Regions from separate parts of the Homo sapiens genome. Here all the other regions are linked to region 1. The links are contacts of gene promoters, found by promoter capture Hi-C in blood cells and fetal thymus (Javierre and others, 2016). All regions are on one chromosome and are shown on one strand. Each heading gives the region's core, a stretch centred on a gene start or on the middle of the fragment in contact. The rest is flanking DNA. Distances are from core to core; before and after follow the strand shown.

Region 1 (2,884 bases), core at 93-2,592:
ATCTACATTTCTTGAGGGTAGGAAAAGCTTGAGCCTACAAAAATTCAAGACACATATTAGGTACTTTAAAATAGTTTTTAAATGAAATAGTGACTATCCGAATACCATCCTAGTCCAAGATACAATCATCTGTTGTACTACTGAGGTAGTCTCCTAACTGGCCTCTCAGCTTCAGCTTTTGCCCTAGTCTATTCTTCAAATAATTCACAGTTATCTTTTCAAATGTGAATTAGGTCACTATGTTGCCTAAATAATCCCAAGGGTTTCCGTCACACTTAAAATCCAAAATCCTTCCAAGGCCTAGAAAGGCCTGTGCCATCTGGCCTCTGCTTGCCTCCCGTCCTGCACCTGCAGCCCCTCACCTGGCTAGAGCCAAGCCTAGCCTGCGGTTCCCACCGCCTGCAACCCCTCCCTGTGGCTCTGCAGCTAGTGCCTTCTCATGTTCCTGACCTCCTAAATTGAGGCAGCCTCCTTACACAATCCCTACCACATTACACTGTTTTTATTTTCTACTTCATTACCACCACTTGAAATTATCTTTATTAACTGTTGAGTAATCTTCCACCACATGCTGGCATTTATAAAACCTGTGAGAGCACTGCTCCCCTAGTTTCCCTAGCGTCAATTATTATGGAATTACTAGATGAAGGAACTCCCCTGCCCTGTTTCCTGCTTTCTTTAAATTGTGGACATACACAAGCACCCAAAGAAAGAGTGATCCTGATTCCAAAGAACATCCCCACCCCACCCCTCAACTAATCCGACCCCTCCTCGGTTTCCCAGCGGGCCGCCCCGCCTCCGCCGCCACGCACCTGGTTCTGCTGGCTTCCACCAGGGGGCTCGCTTCGTCTGCCGGGACCTTCTCCTCCGCCTCCCTTCCCGCCCCGCCTACCCCACCACCCACCTGCTTCCCACTCTGCTTCCACTAGGGGGCGCGTCTCTGAGGGCAGGGCCTCCGTCTCCGACGCTGACTTCCTCAGCGCAGCCAGCACTGTCTCCGGTGGCAAGTCGACCAGCTCCTCCCACACGGATTCTGTGTAGAAATCCACGGTATGTGCATTGGAAATGGACAGGGCATCCCTCAGGAACTGCAGCAGTCCCTGCAACTTGGCACGCAGCGTGGGCAGGTCCGGGGTCACCGGGAGAGGGCAAGAAGCCGCCATGACGCTCACCCTCCGAGGCTGTAGGTGGCGCAAACATGGCCGTGAGGCGCCAGCTCGGCCCAAATTAGCACAGGCAGGCTCAGTAGAGCTCCGAGCCGGATTCCTTCTGAGCGATTGATTGCTTCGGCTTGGTGACGTATTTTGTGGGCGTCCGTCGTGGTCTTCTGATGACGCAGTTAGTCGGCTGCAATGGCGCCGGTGAGGCGGTCCGCGAAGTGGCGGCCTGGTGGTATTGAGGCGCGTGGTGAAGGGGTTTCCACTGTCGGGTACAGGAATAAGAATGTGAGACAGAAGACATGGCGGCCTAACCACCCGCAAGCCTTCGTGGGGAGCGTTCGCGAGGGTATGTAAGAAGGCAACCATTTGCAAATCCTCAGGCTTGCTAAGTTTTAGGATATAAGATTCGCTGAAGCTTGGAAGAAGGATTTAGGAACCAGACCCGGTCCTACTTGGGGCAAGGGAATTCATTCCTGAGCCCGCTAAAGCTGTGAGCTTCGCAGAGCTCTAGATAGGAAGACGGAGCAGTGTTGCTATTATTTAAACGTCTTTTCTGACGTAACCCTGTATTTCATCAGAACTTTTTTCCTATATTTTTCCTGAGAAACTGAGCAGAGAGAGTCTATGACCCTGTGAACTCTTGCGCATGTGGTAAGGTAAAGGATAGAGAGGAGGACAGGGCCAGAAACACTGCTCCGAATTCTTCCTTATTACAAATACCCGAGGCCCTCCAGCCTTCGCTTTAATTTGTGTTTGTCATTTTGTATTGCTGTCTGTAAGGTCTCTTAGATCCCACTTGGAATATATAAATGTTAAATTCAGTCTTCCGATAATTGCTAGCTTTTCAGACAACCATACACTGTCTTTTTCTTTCGTGTTGAAACATTTTCGAAAACATGTAGTTTGTCCAAGATACTAGATGTGGCATTTTCTTTCCTATTTTTTAAGCATTTATTGAAGGCTCAGATTAAGTGTTTTAGATGAACTAAGGAATTTGTTTTGATTTGTGAATACAGCTGTAAACTCAAGTTGTGCAACAGTCTGAACTGGTCAGTTTTTCTTTGAGATTCTTACTTGGATTTCCGCATGACTGTTAGCCTGGTCTTTTTGCAAAGGGCCAACTTACTATGCAATCCATCAGCTTAAATTTGTTGCTTGAAATAATTTTTTAAAGCAAAATATAATACTAGAATCTGAATGTGATGACGTAAAAAAAGTTTTCATTTGTAATTAACAGCTCCATTCTTCGTTCAACTTCTTTTCTCTGAAAGTAATTTTGGATGATATTCCTCAATGTAGGACAAGGCTTTGCTTTTCGAAGAAAACTGAAAATACAGCAAAGTTACAAGAAATTGCTACGGAAGGAAAAGAAGGCTCAAACGTCACTGGAATCTCAATTCACAGATCGATACCCAGATAATCTGAAACATCTCTATTTAGCTGAAGAGGAAAGACATAGGAAGCAAGCAAGAAAAGTCGACCATCCTTTGTCAGAACAAGTTCACCAGCCGTTGCTTGAAGAACAGTGTAGCATTGACGAGCCTTTATTTGAAGATCAGTGTAGCTTTGACCAGCCTCAGCCAGAAGAACAATGTATTAAAACAGTAAAGTATGTATTTTCTTCATTTGAAATCCTTTAAGTGTTGTTTTATTATTTAAAAGTACTATAGGATAATTTATATAGGAATTGTATTTTTTCTTATTTAACACATTTTAGAAGTCAC
Region 2 (2,798 bases), core at 79-2,578, 2.6 Mb after region 1:
CTTTGCTTTACTCACGAACCTGTGTTTTACTCCACTTGAATATTGTGATTTAATACCTATTAAAAGAGAATTACTGTGGTCACCCCTGAACTTTTTTGCACTTATCTCTTTTATAATTTCTTACTTTGTTGCAGAGACAAGAAAGATTTGCTGATAGATCACTGTTGGAAATGGAAAAAAGGGTAAGTGTCCCACTTATTAAATAATTATTTTTTTCTTTCTTGTTTTAGGTAAACAATGGTAGGTTTTTTGTTTTTATTTTGTTATTATGGATGACAGTTTTAATTAGTTTAAATATTTATTGAGTTAATGTATTTTGCAGCAACTTCTTTATAGAATTCTATGGGGTTTCTCTAGGTATGAAATGACCTTGTTAAATAAAATTTAATTTACCACATAATTCTTTTAATGAATTTAAAAAAACTGTCTTGCCTTGATTCTGAAATGTACTATACACATTTTGATAGTGAATTTGATATTTTTGAAATGCCGTTTATCTCTTATGGCCTGTACCTAAAACGTTTTAATCATAAATACATTTATTTTAATTCTTTATAAACCTAAAATACTTTCGTTCTTGAAATAAAGTTTCTAAATCTGGAACATCAAATTTTCAAATTCTTTTTAAAGTTAATTTAATAATTTTTTAAAATTTTGAGTTTAAATATTTAACTTAAGTAGGCTATTTTAAACAAAAAAAAGATTACAAGAAAATCCTTATGCCACTTGATGTCTTTCTGCAAGTTTTTATTGATTGTAATACATTCACTTGTATTTCTCTTCACTTATTGTTGCTCAAAGGTCTAGGAGTAGTCATAGGAATAACTGTACAAGTTTAGCCTCATCAGTTGAAAATGTATAAATGATCCAAAAGTTAAAGGAAAAGTGCCCAAAGATTGTTTGTAGTGTAGCTGAGCAGTAGCTAGACTTGGTAGGGTTTCGACCAGAGAAGAAATGACATGCTGGTAGCTATGATCAAAGAGTAAATACTTAGGAGCTATTGATATAAAAACATTTTTCTTCCATTCTATTTTAAAATAACCAATTTGCCCTTTTCACCAAAAAAAAGAGAAATGGTTAAAAAAAAAGAATATAAAAATAGTGTTATAATGTCTGTCATTTGCTAGTTGTACCTTGCAATAGCTACCATTTTATTATGCTTTCTGCAAGTTTTAAAAATTAGTGTTCTGAGTCATGTTTTCAAAATGGACATAATAATTGCTAAAATATTGTTTTAATAAATTTAATATTATTATATCCTGTTAGAATATTTAACTGTTACTGAATTTTATCTCCAGGATAGGCAGAAATAATAAAATCAGTTCTCTGTTATACTAACGGTTGAGATGAAAGGCATGGATAACAAACTGTACTTAAAGTAGTATTTATTTTTCAAATACAATCACAATTTTAAATATTTAATTTTTCTTATGAAAGTAATATGTTTATTACAGAAACTTTAACAAAAGAAGACAATATTAAATTATCTGTAATCTGTCATGCAGAGATAGCTGATATTTTGATACTTTTTTTTTCTAACATACACATGATGCAGACACATTCATACTCTGACAAGCTCACCTAACCTCCTTTTTCTGCTTGTCAAATGCAGATAAATTACAAAGTAGCTAATCCACTCTCTATAATCATGGTATTAATAGTAACTGCTAACATTTATTCATCATTCTCTGTATATCAAGCAGGCACAAAATTAAACACTTTACATGCATTTTCTCTAAACCATATTTTTTTTCCTTGTGTTTTTTTTTTGTTTGTTTGTCTGTTTTTTTAAAGAGACAGAATATTGCTCTGTCACCCAGGCTGGAGTACAGTGGCACAGTCACCGATCACTGCATCCTCCAGTTCCTGGGTTCAAGCAATCCTCCTGCATCAGCCTCCAGAATAGCTGGCACTACAGGTGCATGTCTCCACACCCAACTATTTTTTTAATTTCTTTTTGGAGACAAGGTCTCACTTTGTTGCCAAGGCTGGTCTTGAACTCTTGGCTTTATGCATCCTTTCACCTAGGCCTCCCAAAGTGCTGGGATTACAGGCTTGAGCCATTGTGCCTGGCCAGTTATATTTTTTAATGTTAATATGTTTGTCAAACATAAGAAATTTCATATCATTTTACAGATGTCAATTTCATTGAGCTAATAGAATCAGGCAGTTGGGTGTAGTTTTCTTGTCTTACTTTACCACTAATTTAAAATCTTGAAGACACCTAATAAAATTGAGGCTCATAGGGAGATTACCTCTCAGAAGAAATATTCTATTTCTGATATTTTGCAAAGTGGTAAAGATCAAATATGACACTTTATGTGCTAGTATTTTGAGAAGTGTGATGATTTGTATGAATTTGTCATGACTGTATTATTTAGTAGAAGAAAGATCTATGTATTGAAAATAATGTTTCTGTCTATACAATAATGTTTAGGCATGCCGATGTTGGAATAACATGGTACTTAAAAGACGATCAGTAGGATTCTGTCTACTTTTTAAAATCACATACCCTAAAAACATTAACATTTACAGTAAATGTACTGCTTGACTAAATATCAGCATTATTTATTAATCTGGGAAAGAGTGTCTTGGAAATAGTTTCAGTGTGATTAAACTAAATTTAAATGGTTTGTATCTGAAAGGTGACCGGCAAGAGTCAGTATCTTCTGGGCGGTATGACCTAACCAGTTTTACAGCTCATCAATTACTGCTGCTTGCTTTTTGCATAACACCCCAGAATGCTTATCATTTAAGGGAGAATAAAACAGTACACTGCAATAATGTGTTGTGTGTTG
Region 3 (2,767 bases), core at 237-2,736, 2.4 Mb after region 1:
TCCTTTTTATTTTTAAACATGGCTTACTTTTGTATGTTTAATGTTGTATGTGAATTTTATCCCAAATAAAAATAGTTGTAAAAGTTTAAGAATAATTATTTAATTAAAACACTAAAGACAAATGTAAAAAATAAAATGTTATCCAAAATTTCGGGACTGGACTTTGCTCCATTTAAAAGTTTAACATCCTTTTAAATATCTCTGTACAAGTATGTAATTTTCTATAAATGGGGTCATACCTAATTTTCTGGTTTATAACCAGTTTTGAAACATTATGTATTTTAAGAAACATTTCTGTGTTAAAGAATATTCATATACATTTTCCCTTTTAATGAGTGTATCGTATTCCATTGTGTGTGCATGTGCATATACATCTTGGAATTTATTTTCCTAGTCCTTTCCTGATGAACATTTAGTATATTTTCCACTTTTTATCATATGGTGAATATTATGTACATCTTATTTATTTATTTATTTATTTTTTTGAGACGAAGTCTCCCTCAGCAGCTCAGGCTGGAGTGCAGGGGCGTGATCTCGGCTGACTGCAACTACCGTCTCCTGGGTTCAAGCGATTGTCCCATCTCAGCCTCCCGAGTAGCTGGGATTACAGGCACCCGCCATCATGCCCGGCTAATTTTTGTATTTTAGTAAAGATGGGGTTTCACCATGTTGGCCAGGCTGGTCTTGAACTCCTGACCTCAGGTGATCTACCCACCTCGGGCTCCCAAAGTGCTAGGATTACAGGTGTGAGCCATCGCACCTGGCCTATACCATGTACATTTTTACTCGCTCATCACATTGTATTCCTTAGGATTGTTCCTTAGAAATCTTATCTGCAATCTTATGTTTTGCTCAAAATAACATGCCATTTAAATGATTGTTTATACAAAATACTTTTTAAAAAATTTTTTACTTTTAAGTTCTGGTATACATGTGCAGAACGTGCAGGTGTGTTACATGGGTATACTTATGCTATGGTAGTTTGCTGCACTTACCGACTCATATCTAGGTTTTAAGCCCTGCATGCATTAGGTATTTGTCCTAATGCTCTCCCTACCCTTGCCCCTGAGCCCCCGACAGGCCCCAGTGTGTGATGGTCCTCCCTGTGTCCATGTGTTCTCATTGTTCAACTTCCACTTATGAGTGAGAACCTGAGGTGTTTGGTTTTCTGTTCCTGTATTAGTTTGCTGAGAATGATGGCTTCCAGCTTCATCCATGTCCCTGCAAAGGACATGAACTCATTCTTTTTTATGACTGTATTCCATGGTGTGTATGTGCTACATTTTCTTTATCCAGTTCATCATTGATGGGGATTTGGGTTAGTTCTAAGTCTGCAAAAGGCATTTTTAATAAAGTTTCTAGTATATTGAAAATGGAAAACTAACCGTGAAAGTACTCATGTTGACACATCTGTTAAATTGATGCGATAATGTTATCCCCTATATGTCACCCACAGGCAGATTTTTGTTTTATTTATTGTTTTTTTTGTTTTGTTTTGAGATGGGGTCTTGCTCTGTTACCCAGGCTGGGAGTGCAGTGGTGTGAACACAGCTCACTGCAGCTTCGACTGCCTGGCCTTAGTGATTCTCCCACCTCAGCCTTTTGAGTAGCTGAGACTACAGGCGTGTGCCCACCACAACTGGCTGACTTTTAAAATCATTATTATTAGTAGTAGAGACAAGGTTTTGCTGTGTTGCCCAGGCTGGTTTCAAACTCCTGGGCTCAAGCAATCCTCCTGCCTTGGCATCCCAAAGTGCTTGGATTACAGCCATGCACTACCATGCCTGGCTGAGGAAAATTGTTTTATTGCTTTATTACTCTGTGTGTGTGTGTTTGTGAGAATAAAATTAGTTGTATTTCACTCAGAGAAGCAATTGGGGAAGACAAGGTAAAAAGTGTTCTTCCTTTTTTCTTTATGTAAGGTTTAGTTCTAATGTTTGAAAATTTTGAAGTTATTAAAATATTAAACAATATCTGTATTCATTTATATGATGCTGTTATTCATTTAAATTAGTGAATAACTCATTCATGCAAGAAACATAGAGAGATCACCATTTATCATATGTCCAGCACAGTACTAATCTCTAAAAACAGTGGTCCCTGGCTACATGTAGTATACAATCTAGTTGAGGTGGCAGCATGAGCCGATGATTACAATGTAAATAAGTGGTAGAGTAGAGATACAAGGTGAAATTAAAGGCTTTATTAGGCGGGCTTAACCCAGAGTATCAATGGAAGACATCCCTGAGAAAGCTCTGTAAGTTATAGGTAACTTATCAGCAGATGTTTTGAGCCTTTTATGACCCTATTCACTACTGGTTTGTCTTCTGAATGTACCTGTTTAGTGTACCTTTTTGTCAGTTTCTTTCTTGAAGATGAATGTTGCCAAGGTTCTCATATGTCTATTATTCTTTTTTGTGTTATTTATGTAGTTTCAACTTTCTTTTTATATGATCTGTCCTCCTTCTTACATGATCCATATCTTATTTTTTATATCAGTCTTCCATTTACTAAGCTAGAATCTCAGGGTCTTTTTCTGTTTTCTCCTCACTTGCATACAGTACATCTCCTCTACCATGCACACACCTAAAAAAAAATCATCTTTTGTATATTCATTTAACATATATTAAAGGTCTCTTCTGTGCCAGACACTACTAAGTGCTGAGAAGACACATTTTTGAGCAAAAATATACCAACAGTACCCTCATAGAGTCGACAGTAAAATGAAATTAGCCATTTGGGAAATGCAAATCAAACCCACAATGAG
Region 4 (2,700 bases), core at 108-2,607, 2.7 Mb after region 1:
TCCCAACAAAAGCTTTTAATTTTCTAAGGATTTTTCCAGAGCTCTCGCCATACGTTTCCCACAACAGCCAGACCAAAGACCAAAACTGTCTTTCCCTGAGAAATATAGAGCATGTGAATCACTTTCTTCTGTTCCCAGTTCTGTGGCAGGCAAACACTGATTGCTCACTCATCATGTGCTACCTGGGCAAAACAGGAATATTAAGTAGGAAGAAAGGTTTATGTTAGGTAAGAGCGTGACTTAGGGCTCTCCTACTTTTTTACAAAATGGAGACCTGGCATTTGTAGCCTCCCACAATGATGTGCCCTGACATTACTTGGATATAGAAAGGTCAGTCTTAGGTGCGTCAGTGACAGCCCACCCCGCTCTGATCCAGAAATTTCAGATGACTTGCATCAGAGGATAAGCCTCTGGCATGTTAATAATGAAAAAATAGAGACAATCACTGCCCCAGCTCATCTCAAATTAGCATCAGTGCAGCGTTAGTACTTTGGTAGGGAGCTTTGCTGCTAAATTCATTCTCTGTAAAGAGGAGAGGCAGAGACAGGGTTAAGGGGAAAACTCCAAGACTGGAATCGCCAATACAATAAACTGTCGAACTGAGTTTTTTCTCCCGCAACCCTAAGATACTAGTAAGTCCTTCCTCTTAGCCAACCCTTTTCACCAGGGCACCGCAGTTTTCTTAGAAGGAGGGTGCTGGGTTTGTCTCAGGTCTTTCTATTCTCCTGCCCGCTGCCCTAGTACATCTGAAAAGGGAGCAGCGACTAGGAAAAGAGACACGTGGGTATTTTCCCATCCTGTCTAGTCATTCCCTGAATCATCACAAGTTATCGCACTTTTCCCCTTAGCCAGCAGCGTTCGAGACTTTCTCTCAAATAATACGGTCTTGTACTTAAAAGGAAGAGTGGTGGGAGAAGAGAGAGGCGGAGAAGACAAGCAAGAAGGGCGTGGAGTGCCGTTCCCGCCCCGGAGTCGGAGGCGCCGGGAGGCCGGACGCCGCGAAGCTGCTAGCCCAGGAATGTGCCGTCTAACTCGCAGGCCGCGGGCGGAGCGCGGCGGGCGCGCTGTGGTCTGCGGCGGGAGCGGGGCAGAGGACGGCTGGCGCAGGGCAGGCTGCAGCGGCGGGCCGGACGCGACGCCGCGCACCTGAGCGCCGGGGGCGGGGCGTCAGCGGCCACGACCCTTCCCACCGCGCGCCGCGCCCCTCGCGCGCCGCCTCGGCCTTTTCCGCTCGTGCTTCGGCGCCGCTCGGCTCCCTTCCCGCCCCTGGCTCCCTCCCTCCCTCCCTCCCTCCTTCTTCTCCCTCCCTCCTGTCCTGGGATTGCCTGGAGCTCCGCACCGCGAGTTTGCCGCGGCACTTTCCGCGCGGCGGAAGAGCGCGCGCCAGCTTCGGCACACCTGGGAGCCGGATCCCAGCCCTACGCCTCGTCCCCTACAAGCTCCTCCAAGGTAAGGCGCTCGCTCACACCCGGTCCTTTCCACGCTCGGCGGGACAGCTGGGTCCCCGCCTCCTCTGCGAACCGGCTAGGAGCTCCGCGCCTCGCCTTGGGAGTGGGGTTGTAGCTGACGGGGACCTCGGACCGGCGGTGGCTAGAGCGCGGAGCAGGCGATACGACGAGCCGACAGGTGGCGGGTCTAGCCCTAGTATCTCGACCGCCGCCGGCGCGGACCTTGGTGGGGATGGGGCGGGCGGGCCGACTTGGGGGTGGGGTCAGTCCTCTCTCCTCCCTTCTAGGGGCGGCGATCGTCGGGGTCCGTACTGTAGGTGCGTGGGAGAAACTTTGCAGGGTGGGGACCCGGCGGCTGCTGGCCGGTAGTGACTGGTGGGCGCGCTCGAGGACTCCAAGGGGCGCAGCCCGGGGGCAGACCCTTGGGTCGGGCGGGGATCTTACGCTTCCCTTACCCGCCCCCTTTTGTCTTTCACCTCAGCCCCGCCGGCTGCTGTGGGAGCGGCGGCCGTCCCTCTCCTGGAGGTCGTCTCCTGGCATCCTCGGGGCCGCAGGAAGGAAGAGGAGGCAGCGGCCGGAGCCCTGGTGGGCGGCCTGAGGTGAGAGCCCGACCGGCCCCTTTGGGAATATGGCGACCGGTGGCTACCGGACCAGCAGCGGCCTCGGCGGCAGCACCACAGACTTCCTGGAGGAGTGGAAGGCGAAACGCGAGAAGATGCGCGCCAAGCAGAACCCCCCGGGCCCGGCCCCCCCGGGAGGGGGCAGCAGCGACGCCGCTGGGAAGCCCCCCGCGGGGGCTCTGGGCACCCCGGCGGCCGCCGCTGCCAACGAGCTCAACAACAACCTCCCGGGCGGCGCGCCGGCCGCACCTGCCGTCCCCGGTCCCGGGGGCGTGAACTGCGCGGTCGGCTCCGCCATGCTGACGCGGGCGGCCCCCGGCCCGCGGCGGTCGGAGGACGAGCCCCCAGCCGCCTCTGCCTCGGCTGCACCGCCGCCCCAGCGTGACGAGGAGGAGCCGGACGGCGTCCCAGAGAAGGGCAAGAGCTCGGGCCCCAGTGCCAGGAAAGGCAAGGGGCAGATCGAGAAGAGGAAGCTGCGGGAGAAGCGGCGCTCCACCGGCGTGGTCAACATCCCTGCCGCAGAGGTGAGCCGGGCGGGGGCCGCAGCCGGACCGGGCCGGGGCGGGCAGCTGCCTCCCGGTGTCTTCCTCCTGGGAGCTACCCGGGGCGCAGAGTTTACCTCCCCTGGCTCG
Region 5 (2,700 bases), core at 108-2,607, 2.4 Mb after region 1:
TAGTTCTGTGAGCTTTGACAAATGTATACTTTTATATAAACATCACCATAATCAATATCTAAAACAGCTTCATCGTGCCAAAATATTAGTTCTTTCCTCTTTACTTCTTATATTTGTCTTGCCTTCAGAATTAAGCCGATAGCATACCAGAAACCTTTACAATTGAGAAAACCATACTATGTCAACTTTTACCTCTAGAAATGAAATAAACAGGGTTGATCTGTAATAGGAATCTGGAGATAAAGGAAACCAGACAGGGTGTCACAGTAAAAAACACAAGAATAGCTATAAAAGTACAGGAATAATGTTACTGAGACAGGTTTTCAAGCTTTCACTTCAGATCTCAACTAATCTAATGCCATATAAACATTTCCTATTCCTGAGAGATTAGATATTGCAATGATTTTTATGAAAATGAACAGAGGAACGGCTTTCTTATCCACTCTAAAATTTTTCTTTAACCTACGCTAAAGAAAAGTGAAAATTAATTACTTTCTCAGACAGAAAGATCTTGGCTGTTTGCCTACTTAGATGTAATTAAAGTCATTCTCGTTTATAATTTCAACTCATTCATGTCTTACAAATCTGTATGCATGTGGCAAACCTAACCCTTATTCCTCTCAGTATGTTTTTCATATCTTCTTTTACCAACATAGGTGTGAATGAAACATGTACAAGCTTCTTTATTTTTATACGTCTATTGTGTACATTATATGTATATATGTATATTATGTAATTACTGGAGTAACTACATAATAGGGTATAAAAAGAATGTCATAGTTATAGAATTTTATCTATAATAATAAAAATAAGACATATGGATAAAATTCAAAAGGATGAATTTGAAAAATAATGAAAAATGAAAGCAAGTAAAATAAAAATTAAATCGTTTCCATATAGTATACTATAGAATATACATATATATATAGCGTGTGTGTACACATGTGTGCGTATGAGAAGTGAGAAATTATGAGTCAGAGAGGTAAAGATATATACAATAGGTGTAATAATATTGAGGATTTAAATAAAAGTCATATAGTTTGGGAAAACTAGAAATATCTAAAGTTCAATGGGTAGAAGACAACACTGTCACTCAATTAGTGACTGAAAACCAAATGAAAAAATTAAAAATGGAAAGTAAAATTGAAAAAGAGAAACTAGGATAATGTGGAGAATCATTTCAAAAATGGAAAGCTGGCCAGGAGCGGTGGCTCACGCCTGTAATTCCAGCACTTTGGGAGGCCAAGGCGGGCAGATCACGAGGTCAGGAGTTTGAGACCAGCCTGGCCAACATGGTGAAACGTCATCTCTACTAAAAATACAAAATCAGCCAGGCATGGTGGTGCATGCCTGTAATCCCAGCTACTCAGGAGGCTGAGGCAGGAGAATCGCTTGAACCTTAGGCGGAGGTTGCAGTGAGCCAAGATCGCGCCACTGCACTCCAGCCTGGGCAACAAGAGCAAAACTCCATCTCAAAAAAAAAAAAGAAAGAAAAAAGAAAAATGGAAAGCTGATACAGTATGAGAAATAATGTGTTCAGGTTAAAAAATGCAATGACTACCATGTACCTATCATGACAAAGCAGCTTAGAGAAGTTTTATTAATTGTGCCTACTCTCTCAGACTCTATCACTACGTGATCCTGACTTAGCCTAGCATTCTTAACAAAACAAACACACAAGCAACAAAATGATAAGCGAGCCTAATTTAGCATGGCTCATTTCTCAAAAAACCTTTAGTTGTTCCTAGTGATCGTTAAGTTCTTAAAATTTCCATTCATTTTGCATTTAATTATCTTTCCTAGAGTTTTACTTAGAAATGATGTATAATTGACTAATTTATAGTTACTAGGCATATGTGAAAATAGATCTAGTAAGCTAATCACTATGAAGGCAAATTTGTTCAATACAGAATAATTTTTTTATTAGTGTGATAAGTGAAGATTTTTAGCACCTTGTTCTCTTATCATTCACTTGGAAATTATTTTACATTCCTTCCAGTTTTTACATGCCACATACAATCAATGATTAAGCTTTATTGATTCCTGGCCCCTCCTTTTCATCTGTACTGTCATTGCTCTAGCTGAGGCCATCTTCAACTGTCACCTCAGTACTGCATGAGTCTTGTCTCCTCTGAGCTATCCCGCGGTTTAGGAGGATAAATGGTGTCTAAGGCAAAGTGATGTGTTTGTTCTCCCTCTGTAAACATATCCACTGTTACTCTAGAATTTGCATTCATTTCTTTAGGGCACTCTTCGCTATGCCCCGGTGCCTGTCCTCTATTTTTCTTCCAGAATGATCTTTCTGACCCAAATATCTGGTATTACTCTCTTGCTTCAATAATTTCTCATCATCTGAAGCAGAAGTAGCAACTGCCAAAGCTCTCAGGTGCCAGGCAGGTAGCAGAAGTGACAACGGAACAAAGCAGATCAGATGGGGACTATTGCAGAGTGGTGACATTAGAGCCTGTCAAATGCGGGAAAATGTGGCCAGAACTTCCAGTTCTTCAAAAGAGACTGGAAATCCAGATTTTATGTGAAACGGTTTAGCTTTTAAATGTCAACAAATAATTCATCACGTTTTAAAGCACGGCATAAGCCAAACAAGCCACTTGTGTAGTCTGTGAACAATCAACCTGTGAACTCTGACCTGATAGGATAAGATCCAGACTCCTTAGAATGGCATAAAAGATTCTTCATGAT
Region 6 (2,824 bases), core at 94-2,593, 2.7 Mb after region 1:
AGTATTCAACTTAAAGCAAAAGTTGGGTAGGTGAGAAGAGATAAAGACCAGGTCATGGTAGAGTTTGGAGTTTAAGTGCAGTTGGGAGCTGCTTGTTGGTTGAAGCAGAGGAAGTACTTGATCTAATTTTTGTTTCAGAAAGATCAGTTTAGGTTGTAGGTAAAGAATGGGCTCTGTGTACGGGAAGGAGAGGGCAGACCACTACAGCAATACAGGAGAGAGTGACCAGGTGGGAGGTAGGGGCCATGGAGAGACGGGATTGCGTATGGAATATGTTTTAGAGGTAGAGCTGACAGCACTTTCTGTGAGAAGCAGAGCAATCAAAATGATAATTAGGTTTTCCTTTAGAGCAATTGGGTGGATGCTGATGCCATTAACTAACAATACTTTTCACTGCTATTCGTGCAGTAAAATGATGTCATGCAGAAGTATAGCTTTTTAATATTTTTATTTTTAGAGATAGGGTCTTGCTATGTTGCCCACGCTGGCTTTGAGCTCCTGGGCTCAAGTGATCCTCTTGCCTCAGCCTCCCAAGTAACTAGGACTACAGGTGCACAACTGTGCCTGGCTGTGTCCTTTTTGTAGAAATTATGATTGAGCCTCTTTATAAATAATCTTAACATTTTGAGTATATGCTAGGCATTGTTCTAAGTTCATTACATGTATAAGCTTATTTAATTATCATAAAAAGTTAAATGAACTATTTGTCTTTATATCCCTCGTATCGAGGAAACTAAACAATTAACATGGTAAACACATCAACAAGCTAAAGAAGAAAAATCTCATATTAATAGATGGAGAAAAAGTATTTGACAAGATCCAATACCCATTCACAGTAAAACTTCTTGGTAAACTAGGAATAGATGGGAATGGCCTCAGTTTGATGAATATCTACAAAAACCTATAGCCATATATTTGAATTTAGAGAAGCTACTTCTACGCTAACTACACATAAGGGCTATGTTTCTAGTACAGAATATTGATTAAAACCTTTCCTGTTTTGATTAAATCTAGCCACATGATTCTCCTAGTGAAGGGATTTAATCTTGAAATTGGTGGAATATTTTAGATGGTAAATTGATTAGAGAAAAGAGATTTCAATTATGTTGTCTAGTACTTTCCATTTTGTTGAATTAAAGTTTAAAACACCACCAAACAACTTTAGGCTGTAGTGGAATTTAAAATTAGTATTTGAATGTAATGTTTTCTTTCCTTTTTTTTTTTTTTTTTTTTTAAGTGCTAAGGTCTTGCTTTTTGCCCAGGCTAGACTCAAACTCCTAGGCTTAAGCAATTCTCCTGCCTCAGCCTCCAGCGTAGCTGGGACTAGAGGTTCGTGCTACTGTGCCTGGCTAATATTTTTCCTTTTTAAGCTAGGTTTTCCTTGACAGTCTATTTTAGTATCCTTAATACTTAGCTCAGTGCTTGACATGTAGGATTAAGAAGGTGGTCTGTCAACTAGGGAAATAATGAAAAAAAAAAACCCCTAAAAAAAAAGTGGCAAACATATTCTGATATGGAAATTATTTCATTTATAAATTGTGTTTTCTTCTAAGGTTTTGCTTTAAAATCACAAAATCTTGAAGTACACTTAAAATTTGAAGTTCAGCTTATGATAGCCTTTTTTTTATTGTGAACTGAAGTTTTAATATTTGATACTAGAGAGTATCTATTGATAAATTCGTGTAGTTATAAGAAAGGTTCAGTTACAGTGATTGCTATTACCTTGATATTTTGTAAATTACTCCCTTTGTAACATTTGCTGTCTCAGGAATTATTTTTTCTAATGTCAGATGGACTTTTCAGAATGAATTGAATGAGATATTTTTGGCATTTTGAAACCTAATGATTTTTCTATGAAGAATTTTTATTCTTATTCATTGCATTTTTTTTTTCCCCAAGAAAAAATGATGTATAATAGTGACACATAAGATAGACATTCTCCTGGTAAAGTATATTGCTCTTTGGATTTTATTTTGATTTCAGTAACAGATTTGATAATTTGGTTTTTTAAGCTTTCATTACCTAATTCTGTAATCTTTGAGGATACAATTCAACCAACCAACCAGCCTTTTCTATAATTTAGTAACTTTACTTGCATTTTTCTCTTGGACTTTGCTTATGTACTGCCAATTAGTTGCTTAAAACTTTTTGTCATTGTTAAAACTGTTTACATGGCTTTTTAAAATGGGGGAAAAACAATAGAAACATGCTGTGGTGCAACGAATGAATACAGTGTGATTAACAACTTAATTTTTTTTCCTGTTTCAAACATCCACCTATTTTTAGCATTTTGTATACCCATAGGTTAAAAATATTTACATTTTTCTTAGAAAAGTAACCTGTTTAAGAACAAAAAAGGCCAAGCGTGGTGGCTCACATCTGTAATTCCAGTACTTTGGGAGGTGGAGGAGGGTGGATTGCTTGAGCTCAGGAGTTTGAGACCAGCCTGGGCAACATGGCAAAACCCCATCTCTACTGAAAATACAAAAATTAGCCCAGTATAGTGGTGCACACCTATAGTATGTTTGAACCGGGAGGTGGAGGTTGCAGTAAGCCAAGATTGTGCCACTGTACTCCAGCCTGGGTGACAGAACAAGAGACTGTCTTAAAAAAACAAACCCAACAAACAAAAAAAAAGAATGAATAACTGTTTATTCATTATATAAATAACTTATTTAACAGTTTCAGTATATTTTGAAATCTTTTTCCATGTATCATTTGATTTTTTTCTTTTTTTAAAGAACACTTGAGAATTACTCAACTAAGTTTAGATTATCTAGATGTTTGTTAGAGTTGCTTTCGTTGGAGGACTTGAAAATGAAGT

What was found. Contacts are between HindIII fragments. The CHiCAGO score rates a contact against its expected background, and 5 or more counts as called.
Region 2: a contact is called between a fragment that was not itself captured here and the fragment with the promoter of CCDC59 in region 1, in 1 of 17 cell types (total CD4 T cells). The highest score is 5.3, in total CD4 T cells.
Region 3: a contact is called between a fragment that was not itself captured here and the fragment with the promoter of CCDC59 in region 1, in 5 of 17 cell types (total B cells, total CD4 T cells, non-activated CD4 T cells and 2 more). The highest score is 11.9, in total B cells.
Region 4: the fragment with the promoter of PAWR here is called in contact with the fragment with the promoter of CCDC59 in region 1 in 2 of 17 cell types (total B cells and naive B cells); the score reaches 18.4 in total B cells.
Region 5: a contact is called between a fragment that was not itself captured here and the fragment with the promoter of CCDC59 in region 1, in 4 of 17 cell types (total B cells, total CD8 T cells, naive CD4 T cells and 1 more). The highest score is 11.9, in total B cells.
Region 6: a contact is called between a fragment that was not itself captured here and the fragment with the promoter of CCDC59 in region 1, in 1 of 17 cell types (total B cells). The highest score is 5.4, in total B cells.

The regions. Positions count from the first base shown.
Region 1 is chr12:82,356,845-82,359,728 of GRCh38, reverse strand. CCDC59 (coiled-coil domain containing 59) reads left to right here and starts at 1,342. Exons shown (of 4, transcript NM_014167.5): 1 at 1,342-1,506; 2 at 2,460-2,769. The coding sequence starts at 1,353. It overlaps METTL25 (methyltransferase like 25), which reads right to left and starts at 1,200. Exons shown (of 12, transcript NM_032230.3): 1 at 905-1,200. The coding sequence starts at 1,163. RefSeq lists enhancers at 412-972, 903-1,462, 973-1,533. The HindIII fragment of the contact is 1,548 bases long and covers 30-1,577 here.
Region 2 is chr12:79,779,199-79,781,996 of GRCh38, reverse strand. It overlaps PPP1R12A (protein phosphatase 1 regulatory subunit 12A), which reads left to right. Exons shown (of 25, transcript NM_002480.3): 23 at 135-182. PPP1R12A-AS2 (PPP1R12A antisense RNA 2) reads right to left here. Exons shown (of 7, transcript NR_187531.1): 7 at 2,091-2,798. Among named protein-coding and RNA genes, the nearest start is that of PAWR, 90 kb to the right of the region's middle. The HindIII fragment of the contact is 3,713 bases long and covers 1-2,798 here.
Region 3 is chr12:79,920,992-79,923,758 of GRCh38, reverse strand. The region is part of intron 1 of PPP1R12A (protein phosphatase 1 regulatory subunit 12A); the gene reads left to right. Among named protein-coding and RNA genes, the nearest start is that of PPP1R12A, 13 kb to the left of the region's middle. The HindIII fragment of the contact is 5,323 bases long and covers 1-2,767 here.
Region 4 is chr12:79,689,621-79,692,320 of GRCh38, reverse strand. PAWR (pro-apoptotic WT1 regulator) reads left to right here and starts at 1,357. Exons shown (of 7, transcript NM_002583.4): 1 at 1,357-1,449; 2 at 1,930-2,592. The coding sequence starts at 2,077. It overlaps PPP1R12A-AS2 (PPP1R12A antisense RNA 2), which reads right to left and starts at 2,289. Exons shown (of 7, transcript NR_187531.1): 1 at 1,925-2,289. RefSeq lists silencers at 1,060-1,359, 2,130-2,649. The HindIII fragment of the contact is 6,027 bases long and covers 15-2,700 here.
Region 5 is chr12:79,945,053-79,947,752 of GRCh38, reverse strand. No RefSeq gene overlaps it. Among named protein-coding and RNA genes, the nearest start is that of PPP1R12A-AS1, 11 kb to the right of the region's middle. The HindIII fragment of the contact is 1,353 bases long and covers 681-2,033 here.
Region 6 is chr12:79,669,534-79,672,357 of GRCh38, reverse strand. The region is part of intron 2 of PAWR (pro-apoptotic WT1 regulator); the gene reads left to right. Among named protein-coding and RNA genes, the nearest start is that of PPP1R12A-AS2, 19 kb to the left of the region's middle. The HindIII fragment of the contact is 1,343 bases long and covers 672-2,014 here.